Linked DNA regions of Homo sapiens: region 2 is linked to region 1. Evidence: promoter capture Hi-C in 16 types of primary human blood cells and fetal thymus (Javierre and others, 2016). All regions are on one chromosome and are shown on one strand. The core of a region is centred on a gene start or on the middle of the fragment in contact, and the rest is flanking DNA. Distances in the headings are between cores, read along the strand shown. Region 1 holds the start of LINC02482 (long intergenic non-protein coding RNA 2482). Region 2 overlaps SH3TC1 (SH3 domain and tetratricopeptide repeats 1).

Evidence for each region. Contacts are between HindIII fragments. The CHiCAGO score rates a contact against its expected background, and 5 or more counts as called.
Region 2: a contact is called between a fragment that was not itself captured here and the fragment with the promoter of LINC02482 in region 1, in 2 of 17 cell types (total B cells and fetal thymus). The highest score is 5.8, in total B cells.

What each region holds. Positions count from the first base shown.
Region 1 is chr4:6,669,938-6,675,130 of GRCh38, forward strand. LINC02482 (long intergenic non-protein coding RNA 2482) reads right to left here and starts at 3,944. Exons shown (of 2, transcript NR_134665.1): 1 at 3,747-3,944; 2 at 791-1,056. It overlaps MRFAP1L2 (Morf4 family associated protein 1 like 2), which reads left to right and starts at 4,138. Exons shown (of 1, transcript NM_138699.3): 1 at 4,138-5,193. The coding sequence starts at 4,276. The coding sequence ends at 4,635. RefSeq lists an enhancer at 3,132-3,740 and a silencer at 4,213-4,442. The HindIII fragment of the contact is 2,330 bases long and covers 3,542-5,193 here.
Region 2 is chr4:8,229,417-8,234,792 of GRCh38, forward strand. SH3TC1 (SH3 domain and tetratricopeptide repeats 1) reads left to right here. Exons shown (of 18, transcript NM_018986.5): 13 at 2,560-2,740; 14 at 3,947-4,097. Among named protein-coding and RNA genes, the nearest start is that of SH3TC1, 33 kb to the left of the region's middle. RefSeq lists an enhancer at 1-219 and a silencer at 1-36. The HindIII fragment of the contact is 8,587 bases long and covers 1-5,376 here.

The DNA.
Region 1 (5,193 bases), core at 2,694-5,193:
AGAACATGGATGAATGAAGGGGTGGGGAATTGGGGTCATTTATACTACCTACCATCATCTGTGCCCACTGCCCCCATTATTCATGGAAAAATTGCCCACCCCCATCTAAGGACCCCCTTCCTACTTTCTTCCAATCATGGCCTCAAGCAAGAAGTCTAGCATCTTGTGAGCCACATCAGGTCCTAATATGGCTTTTATTGGTCTAGAAGCTTATGCACTTTTTGAAAAGACAAGTTATTGTCCACTTAGACCCAACATTCAGTGATGAGACAGGGACAGGATAAGGCCCATTGGTAAGGGAAGAATGAAGGGGTGAAATAGCAGTCACATAGCTATTTTGAAACTCGGTGGAGTAAACATTGCCAGGTCCTCTACTTTAAAGCTAGGGAATGTAAGGCTTTGGTTCTGCAACCTGGAAGTGGCTCAGCAGCACAGGAGTTGGCAAACATTTTCTGTAAAGATCTAAACAGTAAATATGTTAGGCTTTGTGGGCCACATACAGTCTCTATCACATATTCCTATTTCTCCTTTTCTTTTTTAAAGATATGAAAGTCTTTCTTAGTTCAGGAGCTGCAGTTTGCCATTGGTCCCCACACACTGGCCTGCACTGACACATCCTTCTTTTTCCATCACACTTCTGAAAAGGGCATTTTAAAATGCGCCAGTTTGGGCTACTGAGCCTGCTTTCTGCCGGTGGAAAGATTGGGAGTCTAGAAGTCCTTTGACACTTTGAACTGTCGCTTGGATAAGCTAGAGCATTTTTGCTAATATGTTCACCTCGAAACTTTTGTGGGTTTCCATGTATTTTATTCCATTCCACTCATACCAAGAGACAATTCTTTTTGAGGTGTGTTTAGCTCTCTAGACTTAATTACTGCTGTGTTTGTCACATTGGCTGCAGTGAGATCGTGACATTAGGATTCCTGGGAGCCTGCGCTGGGCAGAATTTAAGATGGCTCCTCCATGATCTTCACTCTCTGGGTGAAAACTGTCGGTCAGCCCATGCCCAGGATTGTTGATCAGTGCTGAAGGTCCTGAGGCTGTTTTTAGCATAGTCTAAAACTTAAGCAAAGCAATAATTATAATTGAGCAAGCAAAATTGTTCTTTAACATGGAATCGATGCTGTTACACAACCACATAAGCACTATTTTAGTCCGTTCACGCTGCTCTAACAAAATACCAGAAACTGGGTGTCTTCTAAACAACAGAAATGTATTTTCTGAGTTCTGAAGGCTGAGCAGTACAAGATCACGGTGCCAGCAGGTTTGGTGCCTGGTGAGGGCCCACTTCTGGTTCATAGAAGCCCATCTTTTTGCTATAACCTCCCACAGCAGAAGGGGTAAGGCGGCCCTGTGGAGTTGTTTTATGAGGGTGCTAATCTCATTCATGAAAGCTGAGCCTTCATGACCACATCACCTCCCAAAGACCCCACCTCCTAATATCATCACATTGGGGATTGCTTTGCAACATATGAATTTTGGGGGGACTCACATATTTGGACCATGGCAAGCCCCTTAAAAGCAGAGTTTTCTCCAGCTGGGAGCAGAAGGGGATGACAGAGAGGCTGGAAGGATAAGAAGGATCCGACATGCTCTTACTGGCTTTGAAGATGGAGAGGGCCACGTTTAAGGACCGGAGAGTGACCTGTAGGAGCTGAGAGTGACCTCTGGCCATCAAGCATGGAGGGTCCCCTTAACTTTCTGCTAGAGGTACACAGTGAATAAGCCTAGACACAATGACATGCAGTGGGTGCTTAATAAAGATCTCTTGGGAAATGAGCATTAAAGCAACATTTACTGGGCTCCTGCTGTATGCCAAGCCCATTTCAAGCTGAGGAAACAGATGACTAAACTGACTAAGTACCTGCCCCTAGGGCCTGTTTTCTCGCAGAGGCACTTATATAGTCCAGTGAAGAAAGAAATCTTCCAGAATGATTCCTAAAGGCATATTCAGAGCCTGGCAGGGCTGAGGAAACAGTGGTGAATCAGACCCACCTTGGCCTTGGGTGCCCACAGTGGGTAAAGCCAGACTCCAACTTACAGCCAAAGCCCCAGGCAGAGTGAAGCTTATACCCTTAGGAAAAAAGTAGGGGGAGGCTGGGTCACAGCACTCAGCATCAGCACCGAGGCCGCAGCTCTGTGTTCCAGGAGCATCTGCCCGAGGCAAGAGGGAGCGGAGGCCCTGGCTGGGGGCAAATCCCGACGCTGTGAGCACCTGGCTTCTCGGAGCCTGGAATATTCTAACGGGACCACTGAATTCGGTTGTTTATTATTTTTATTTATTTATTTTGAGACAGGGTCTCGCCCTGTCACTGGGCTGGGGTGCAGTGGCGCAATCAGGCGTTCAGAGCTCACCTCGGTCTCGACCTGCTGGGCTCAAGCAATCTTCCCGGCTCAGCCTCTCAAGTAGCTGGGACTATCGGCACGCGCCACCACGCCCAGCTAATTTCTTGTGTTTTTTTTGGTAGGGTTTTTTCCCTTGTTGCCCAGGCTGGTATGGAACTCCTGAGCTCAAGCGATCCTCTCACCTCAGCCTCCCAAAGTGCTGGGATTATAGGCGTGAGCCACACGCCCGGCCTGGGTGTTTATGATTTAGAATGTTGGTGAGAGGTGACAGTGTGCTGGCAGTCCTCACAGCCCTCGCTCACTCTCGGTGCCTCCTCTGCCTGGGCTCCCACTTTGGCAGCACTTGAGGAGCCCTTCAGCCCACTGCTGCACTGTGGAGGCCCCTTTCTGGGCTGGCCAAGGCCAGAGCCGGCTCTCTCAGCTTGCAGGGAGGTGTGGAGGGAGAGGCGCGAGCGGGCACCGGGGCTGCACACGGCGCTTGCGGGCCAGCTGGAGTTCAGGGTGGGCGTGGGCTTGGTGGGCCCCGCACTCGGAGCAGCCGGCTGGCCCTGCCAGCCCCCGGCAATGAGGGGCTTAGCACCCGGGCCAGCGGCTGCGGAGGGTGTACTGGGTCCCTCAGCAGTGCCAGCCCACCGGCGCTGTGCTCGATTTCTCACCGGGCCTTAGCTGCCTTTCCGAGGGGCAGGGCTCGGGACCTGCAGCCCGCCATGCCTGAGCCTCCCACCCCCTCCATGGGCTCCTGTGCTGCCCGAGCCTCCTCGACGAGCACCACCCCCTGCTCCACGGCGCCCAGTCCCATCACCACCCAAGGGCTGAGGAGTGTGGGCGCACGGTGCCGTTCTCGCAGGCAGCTCCACCTGCAGCCCTGGTGTGGGATCCACTTGGTGAAGCCAGCTGGGCTCCTGAGTCTGGTGGGGATGTGGAGAACCTTTATGTCTAGCTCAGGGATTGTAAATACACCAATCAGCACCGTGTGTCTAGCTCAGGGTTTGTGAATATACCAATCGACTCTGCTGGGGCCTTGGAGAACCTTTGTGTCTAGCTCAGGGATTGTAAACGCACCAATCAGCACCCTGTCAAAACAGACCACTCGGCTCTACCAATCAGCAGGATGTGGGTGGGGCCAGATAAGACAATAAAAGCAGGCTGCCGGAGCCAGCAGTGGCAACCGGCTCAGGTCCCCTTCTATTGTGGAAGCTTTGTTCTTTCTCTCTTTGCAATAAATCCTGCTGCTGCTCACTCTTTGGGTCCACACTGCCTTTATGAGCCGTAACAGGTCTGCAGTTTCACTCCTGAGCCGGCGAGACCACGAACCCACCAGAAGGAAAAAACTCCGAACACATCCGAACATCAGAAGGAACAAACTCCAGACGCGCCACTTTAAGAGCTGTAACACTCACCGCGAGGGTCCGTGGCTTCATTCTTGAAGTCAGTGAGACCAAGAACCCACCAATTCCGGACACATTGGGAACTTAGAGCAGTGCTTGGGACATGGTTATCAGCGTCAGATATTTCCTTAAACTAGCGTGAAGTCGACTTTAACCTTCCAGCAGTGTGAGTGAGGGCCCTGACCCTAGAATCAACGCCCAAAGAGCTGTGGCGCTACAGCGGGCGGGGACATGGGGTGCGCATGCGTGCGGGGGGGTACGCGTGCGTGCAAGTGCGCGTGCGCGCGCAGGACCGCTGAGGCGGGAGCCCCGAATGCGGTTCTCGCTTGCTGCGTGGCGGTAAAGGACCGCAGGTGTCGTAAAAGGGCCGCAGTGGCAGCGTCCTGGCCGACGGCTAGTAGCCCATTTTGGATACCGTCCTCGCTGCGGAAAGTTGGGGCAACCTGTTGCTAGTCTGGTCGTTGGTGACAGCGAGGCTTCCGCGCTCGCTGCTGGTGAGCAGCCCCGGCGTGCCCCGCGGGCTGGAAGAGGCGGCGGCGTGATGCGGCCCGTGGACGCGGACGAGGCGCGGGAGCCCCGCGAGGAGCCGGGCAGCCCGCTGAGCCCCGCGCCCCGCGCCGGCCGCGAGAACCTGGCCTCCCTGGAGCGCGAGCGCGCCCGGGCGCACTGGCGGGCCCGCAGGAAGCTGCTGGAGATCCAGAGCCTGCTCGACGCCATCAAGAGTGAGGTGGAGGCAGAGGAGCGGGGCGCCCGGGCCCCAGCACCCCGCCCGCGTGCGGAGGCTGAGGAGCGGGTGGCTCGGCTGTGCGCCGAAGCAGAGAGGAAGGCTGCGGAGGCGGCGCGGATGGGCAGGCGGATCGTGGAGCTGCACCAGCGGATCGCCGGCTGCGAGTGCTGCTGAGCCGGCGAGGCCGCGCGGGTCTGGAGCGGAGCGCGGCGGGGAGTGTCCCGCGTGGAAGGCGCTGGGTAGGCAGGGAGGGGAGCGCAGAGCCGTGCCACGCTCTCCGCGGAGTTGGTTTCATTCTTTTTTCATAGGTAATTAGAGAAAATAATTTGATATGTTGTTGTAAAGAGTCATGACCACTGGAAGTATTTTCAGGACGTAGACCTGGTGGGTCACTACGTGGGGGGAGAGAGGTGTGAAGCGGAGGTACATGCTGGAAACGTGTGAATGTTGTTACGAGATTGGAGCGTTTGCGATGACCTTCCTGCAGGTGGAAGCATTGTGCACAGGTGGTTGGGTTTGTTTGACTCCCGGATATGAGAATATCAAGCTCAAAATTTATGTTGTGATGATGAATTTCTCCCACTTGTACTTTAGGTGGCCAACTGACGAACTGTGTTCACCTGATAAGGAGTCGTGGCTGCTTGGACAGGCTCAAACCAAGAGAGCCTTTCGTTTTGTCTCCCCTGTTTTTCTGCCTGCGTTTTCTCCACATTAGCCACTCAATTTCCAGTA
Region 2 (5,376 bases), core at 1-2,500, 1.6 Mb after region 1:
GTGAGTGGGGGTGTGATGGGGGTGAGTGAGCAGGGGGTGAGTGAGTGGGGGTGTGATGGGGGTGAGCAGGGGGTGAGTGAGCGGGGGTGTGAGCGGGTGAGCGGGGATGAGTGGGGTGTAAGTGGGGGTGAGTGAGCAGGGCCTATGCAGGGAGGTGCAGAGTTGGGCGTGGGTTGGTTGGGTGCTGGATGGTGAGAAGCTCTGCTGGAGAGCTAAGCAGGGCCTGGGGCCTCAGGCTGTGGCTTGGCCTTTTCCCTAAGGGCACTGGGGAGCCATCTGCCCAAGGAGGAGTGGGGGGGTTCAGACCCAGGCTTCTTCCCCAGGGCCATTCTCTGACTGCAAGGAGACCCTCCAGAAACCCGGCACCCCAGCCCCCACAGCAGCCTCCGGTGGGTCCTGGCACAATAGCCTGTGGCACCTCCTACGAGGCCCTCCCCGGGGTGCTGGGGGATTCAGACTTGGAAACGCAGGCCAGGGAACGAGGATCATGCTTCCCTGTCTCCCCACCCCGCGTTGAACAGTCGAGGAGACCGGGGGCCAGGGGACGAGGATCATGCTTCCCTGTCTCCCCACCCCGCGTTGAACAGTCGAGGAGACCGGGGGCCAGGGGACGAGGATCATGCTTCCCTGTCTCCCCACCCCGCGTTGAACAGTCGAGAAGACCGAGGGTGGGGCTGATACCCCACATGCTTACTTGTGGTCATTTTTGAGTCACTTTTGGTAGTTTGTGTCTTTCTAGGAGTTTGGCTGTTGCGTCTAGATGATCTGATTTGTTGGCATACAATTGTTCGTAGTGTTCTCATGGAATCCTTTTATTTCTGTCAGGTCAGCAATAATGTTCCCTCTTTCATTTCTGATTTTAGAAACTTGGGTTTTTAATTTTTAATTTATTTATTTTTATTAGAGATGGGGTCTCGTCATGTTCCCCCAGGCTGGTCTTGAATGCTGGCCTCAAGCGATCCTCCCACCTCGGCCTCACAAAGTGCTGGGATGACAGGCGTGAGCCATGGTGCTCGGTCTCTGATTTTAGTCATTTGTGTCCCATCTTTCTTTTCTTGGTCAGTCTGGTGAAAGATTTGTCAATTTTGTTAATATTTTTGAAAAACCCACCTTTGGGTCTGTTGATTAGCTCTTTTGTTTTTCCATTCTCTGTATTTTTACTTCCCATTTCCACTCTCATGTTTATTATTTTCTTCCTTTTACTCGCTTTGGGTTTAGTTCATTCTTCTTTTTCTAGTTTCTTAAGGTGGAAGGTTGGGTTTTTGATTTGAGATTTTTCTTCTTTCTTTGCATGTAGACATTTAGAGTTACACATTTCCCTTTCAGCACTGCCTTAGCTGCATCTTGGAATTTTTGATATGCTGTGCTTTTTTTTTTTTTTTTTTAGACAGAGTTTTGCTCTGTTGCTCAGGCTGGAGTGCAGTGGTGCAATCTCGGCTCACTGCAACCTCTACCCGGGTTCAAGCCATTCTCCTGCCTCGGCCTCCTGAGTAGCTGGGATTACAGACATGCACCACCACACCCGGCTAATTTTTGTATTTTTTTGTAGAGACGGGGGTTTCACCATGTTTCCCAGGCTAGTCTCAAACTCCTGGACTCAAGCGATCCTCCCGCCTCGGCCTCCCGCAGTGCTGGGATGACAGGCATGAGCCATTGCTCTGGCCCGTGCTGTGCGTTTGTTTTCATTCTTCTCAAATTAGTTTTCAGTTTCCCTGATGGTCTCTTCTTTCACTCACTGGTTGTTTAGGAGTGTGTCATTTCCACATATTTTTGACTTTCCCAAATTTCCTTCACTGTTGATGTCCAGTTTCACGCCAGTACAACTGAAGAACACTCCTGCTTTGGTCTCAGTCCTTTTCCATTCACTGAGGCTCATTGTGGGGCCTGGCACGTGGCCTGTCTTGGGGAATGTCCCATGGGCGCTTGAGAGGACTGTGTATTCTGCCGTTGTTGGGTGGCGTGTGTGATAGATGTCCACTCGGCGTACCTGGTTTCTGGTGTTCATCTCCGGAATGTTGCTGACACTAGAAAATCAGCAGCTTTCCACCGTTCCCAGCGCCTTGGCTTTGGGAGAGGCCCGTGAGCCTGTGGGTTTGGAGCCTGGCTGCACGGGAGGAGCACGTGTGGGAATGCCAGGGGCCGGCTTTGAGCCCCATTCCCCCAACATGATGCCGTGTGTGGCAGACGTGACATTTGGTTTTGCTCCCCCAGGGTTCCATCTGCGACAGGGGCTACTTGTGTCCCTGGCCTCGTCAGCTCGGGCTGAAGGCGGCCCTGGTCCTGGCCAGAGGGGCTTTGTGAAGCAGAAATAGATGGCCTGGTGCAGGGGCCAAGCTCGGCTAGGGCCTCAGCCCTGGGAGTTGTAAAGAAGGCCGGCCTCTACCATGGGCATCTGCACCAAGCTGTGCCCATGTCACGGTGTGCTCAGCGGTTCCCCGCCTGTGGGGCCCAGGCTCACAGAGGTGTGAAAGAGGCAAGCACACCGCAGGGGCCTCTGAGCCCAGCCAGCCTCGCTTCAATGCTGGGAGGCTGACGTCTTCCTTTTTGTCTTCTGCCCAGGCCAGCTGCGGGCCGTCCAGCGGCTGTGCCACTTCTACAGCGCCGTCATGCCCAGCGAGGCCCAGTGTGTCATCTACCATGAGCTCCAGCTCTCCCTGGCCTGCAAGGTGGCCGACAAGGTGCTGGAGGGGCAGCTCCTGGAGACCATCAGCCAGCTCTACCTGTCCCTGGGCACCGAGCGGTGAGGGCTGGCTCTGTGGTGGTGGGGGCGGGGGGAGGGGGCAAAGGGGGCGGCGGGGCGGGGGCACAGGGAAGCTGGCCCAGGGCCCCAGCAGCCCCTCTCCTTGGGATCATTTGGTTCCTTGGCATCGGATGCTCTGAGCTGGGGGGCCTGGGGTTGTCCCAGGGCTGCTGATGACCCGTGAGTCCCAGCTTGAGCTTCCCTTGTTGGGTGACACGTCTTCCCATCCCTGCTTGCACACCTCCCCAAAGGTCATCTCAACCCCAGCAGAAGCAGTTACATGCATTCTGGGCTGTTCTTCCTACCTGGTGGCTTTTGTCATCTGACCTCTGCCTGCCCCGAGTCTTCACTCCTGGCCTTCACCTGTCCCCTTAAATGTGACCACAGCAGCCACCTGTGGCTTCTCTCCCACAGAAGACAGAGCCAGTTGTGTCACCTGCTTCCCTGGGGCAGGGTTTCAAGGTCTCACATCCCACATGTGGCCCACTTGGCTCTCCTGGAGCATCCTGACCTGGTGGGGTAACCATGGCCCTGGCCACCCCACCCACAGGGCCCAGTGACATTGCTGCACTCACACCCCTTCGACTCACCAAGAGAGCAGGGAAGGAGCCGGATTCCACAGGGACCCGGGAGATCGGCTCCAGCCTTGGCCTCAGGTTCACAGCAGGAAAATGGGCCAGTGTGTTAGAGCCATGTTCTCAAAGTGTGGTCCCTGGACCAGCAGAGCAGCATCCATGTCACCTAGGAGCTTGTGGCAAGTGGGAGTTCTAGGGCCCGCCCCAGGCCCGTGGAGCCAGAAGCTCTGGGGGCAGGCCAGCAAGCTATATGGACAGGCCTCTGGATGACTGTGATGCCTGCGCACCTTGAGAACCATCGGCCTGGATAGCATCTGAACACTGATGGCTCCTGGTGCGTCTAGAGAAGACACAGGCCATGTCTGGGACGCGGGGGAGATGGACTAGCACGCTCCCCCAGCCACAGGGCAGCATGATGCCCAGTTCCCTCAGAAGGATGTCCTTCGTCTTTTCCTTGCCGTGTGTGTTCAACCCCACCCTCTCAGCAGCCCGGGAAGGGCAGGACACTGCACACACAAGAGGGCCGTTCCCAGTCCCATTCCAGATTCATCTGTCACCAGACCCACGGGAGGAGGCAGACTGGTTCCAGGAGGATGACAGCCCTTGTTCTGACACCTGTGTCTGATACCAGGGCCTACAAATCCGCACTGGACTACACCAAACGAAGTCTGGGGATTTTCATTGACCTCCAGAAGAAAGAGAAGGAGGCGCATGCCTGGCTGCAAGCAGGGAAGATCTATTACATCTTGCGGCAGAGCGAGCTGGTGGACCTCTACATCCAGGTGAGTGATGAGGGATGCAGGAGGGCCTCTGCACATGTTCACTCTCCATCCATCCATCCGTCCATTGATGATGATGATAGATGATCCTTCCATCATCTATCCATTTACCTGTTCATCCTTCCTTCCATCCATCCATCCTTCCATCATCTACCCATTCACCTATGGGTCCTTCCATCCATCCATCATCCATCCATCCATCCTTCCATTATCCATCCATTCACCTGTTCATCCATCCATCCATCCATCATCCATCCATCCTTCCATTATCCATCCATTCACCTGTTCGTCCTTCCATCCATCCATCATCCGTCCATCCATCCATCAGGCATCCATCCTTCCATCATCCATCCATTCACCTATCATCCTTCCATTCATCCATCCATCATCCATCCATCCATCATTCATCCACTCTTTTGTCATCCATCCAATCACCCATCAATCCATCCATTCACCTGTTTGTCCATCCATCCATCCATCATCCATCCATCCTTCCATTTATCCATCCATCATCCATCCATCCATTCATCCATCATTCATCCATCCTTTTATCATCCATCCATTTATTCATCCATCATTCCATCATCCATCCATTCACCTGTTGATCCTTCCATCATCCATCCATTTATCCATTCATCCATCCATCCATCCTTCCATCATCCATCCATCCATCATCCATCCATTCATCCATCCACCATCCACCATCCTTCCATCATCCATCCATTCACCCATCCATCCATTCACCTGTTTGTCCACCCATCCATTTATCCATCCATCATTCATCCATCCACCCACCCATCTACCCATTAATCCATCCCTCCATTCGTCTGTCTGTCCATTTGTTTATCCATACATTCGTCTATCCACCCATCTATCCATCCATATGTACATACATACATCATCCACCCTCCACCCATCCATCCATACATTATCCACCCACCCATACATACACACATCATTCAACCCATCCATCCATCCATCCACCCATCCATCCATTCATCTGTCCATCCGTCCGTCCATCCATCCATCCACCCACCTATACATCTGCTCATCCATTTATCCATCCATCCACCCATCCATCCATCCATCCATCCATGTACCTATACATCTGCTCATCCATTTATCCATCCATCCACTCATTCCTAAGCCACTGCTGAGCACCTGTTGTATGCCTTTCCCCTCTCTCCCACTGGTTCCCTCATATCCTCCCCCAATGGCCAGCATCTTCTCCCTGAGGGCAGAGGCACAGCCCCTCACAGTGCCCAGCACCTGCTGGTATACA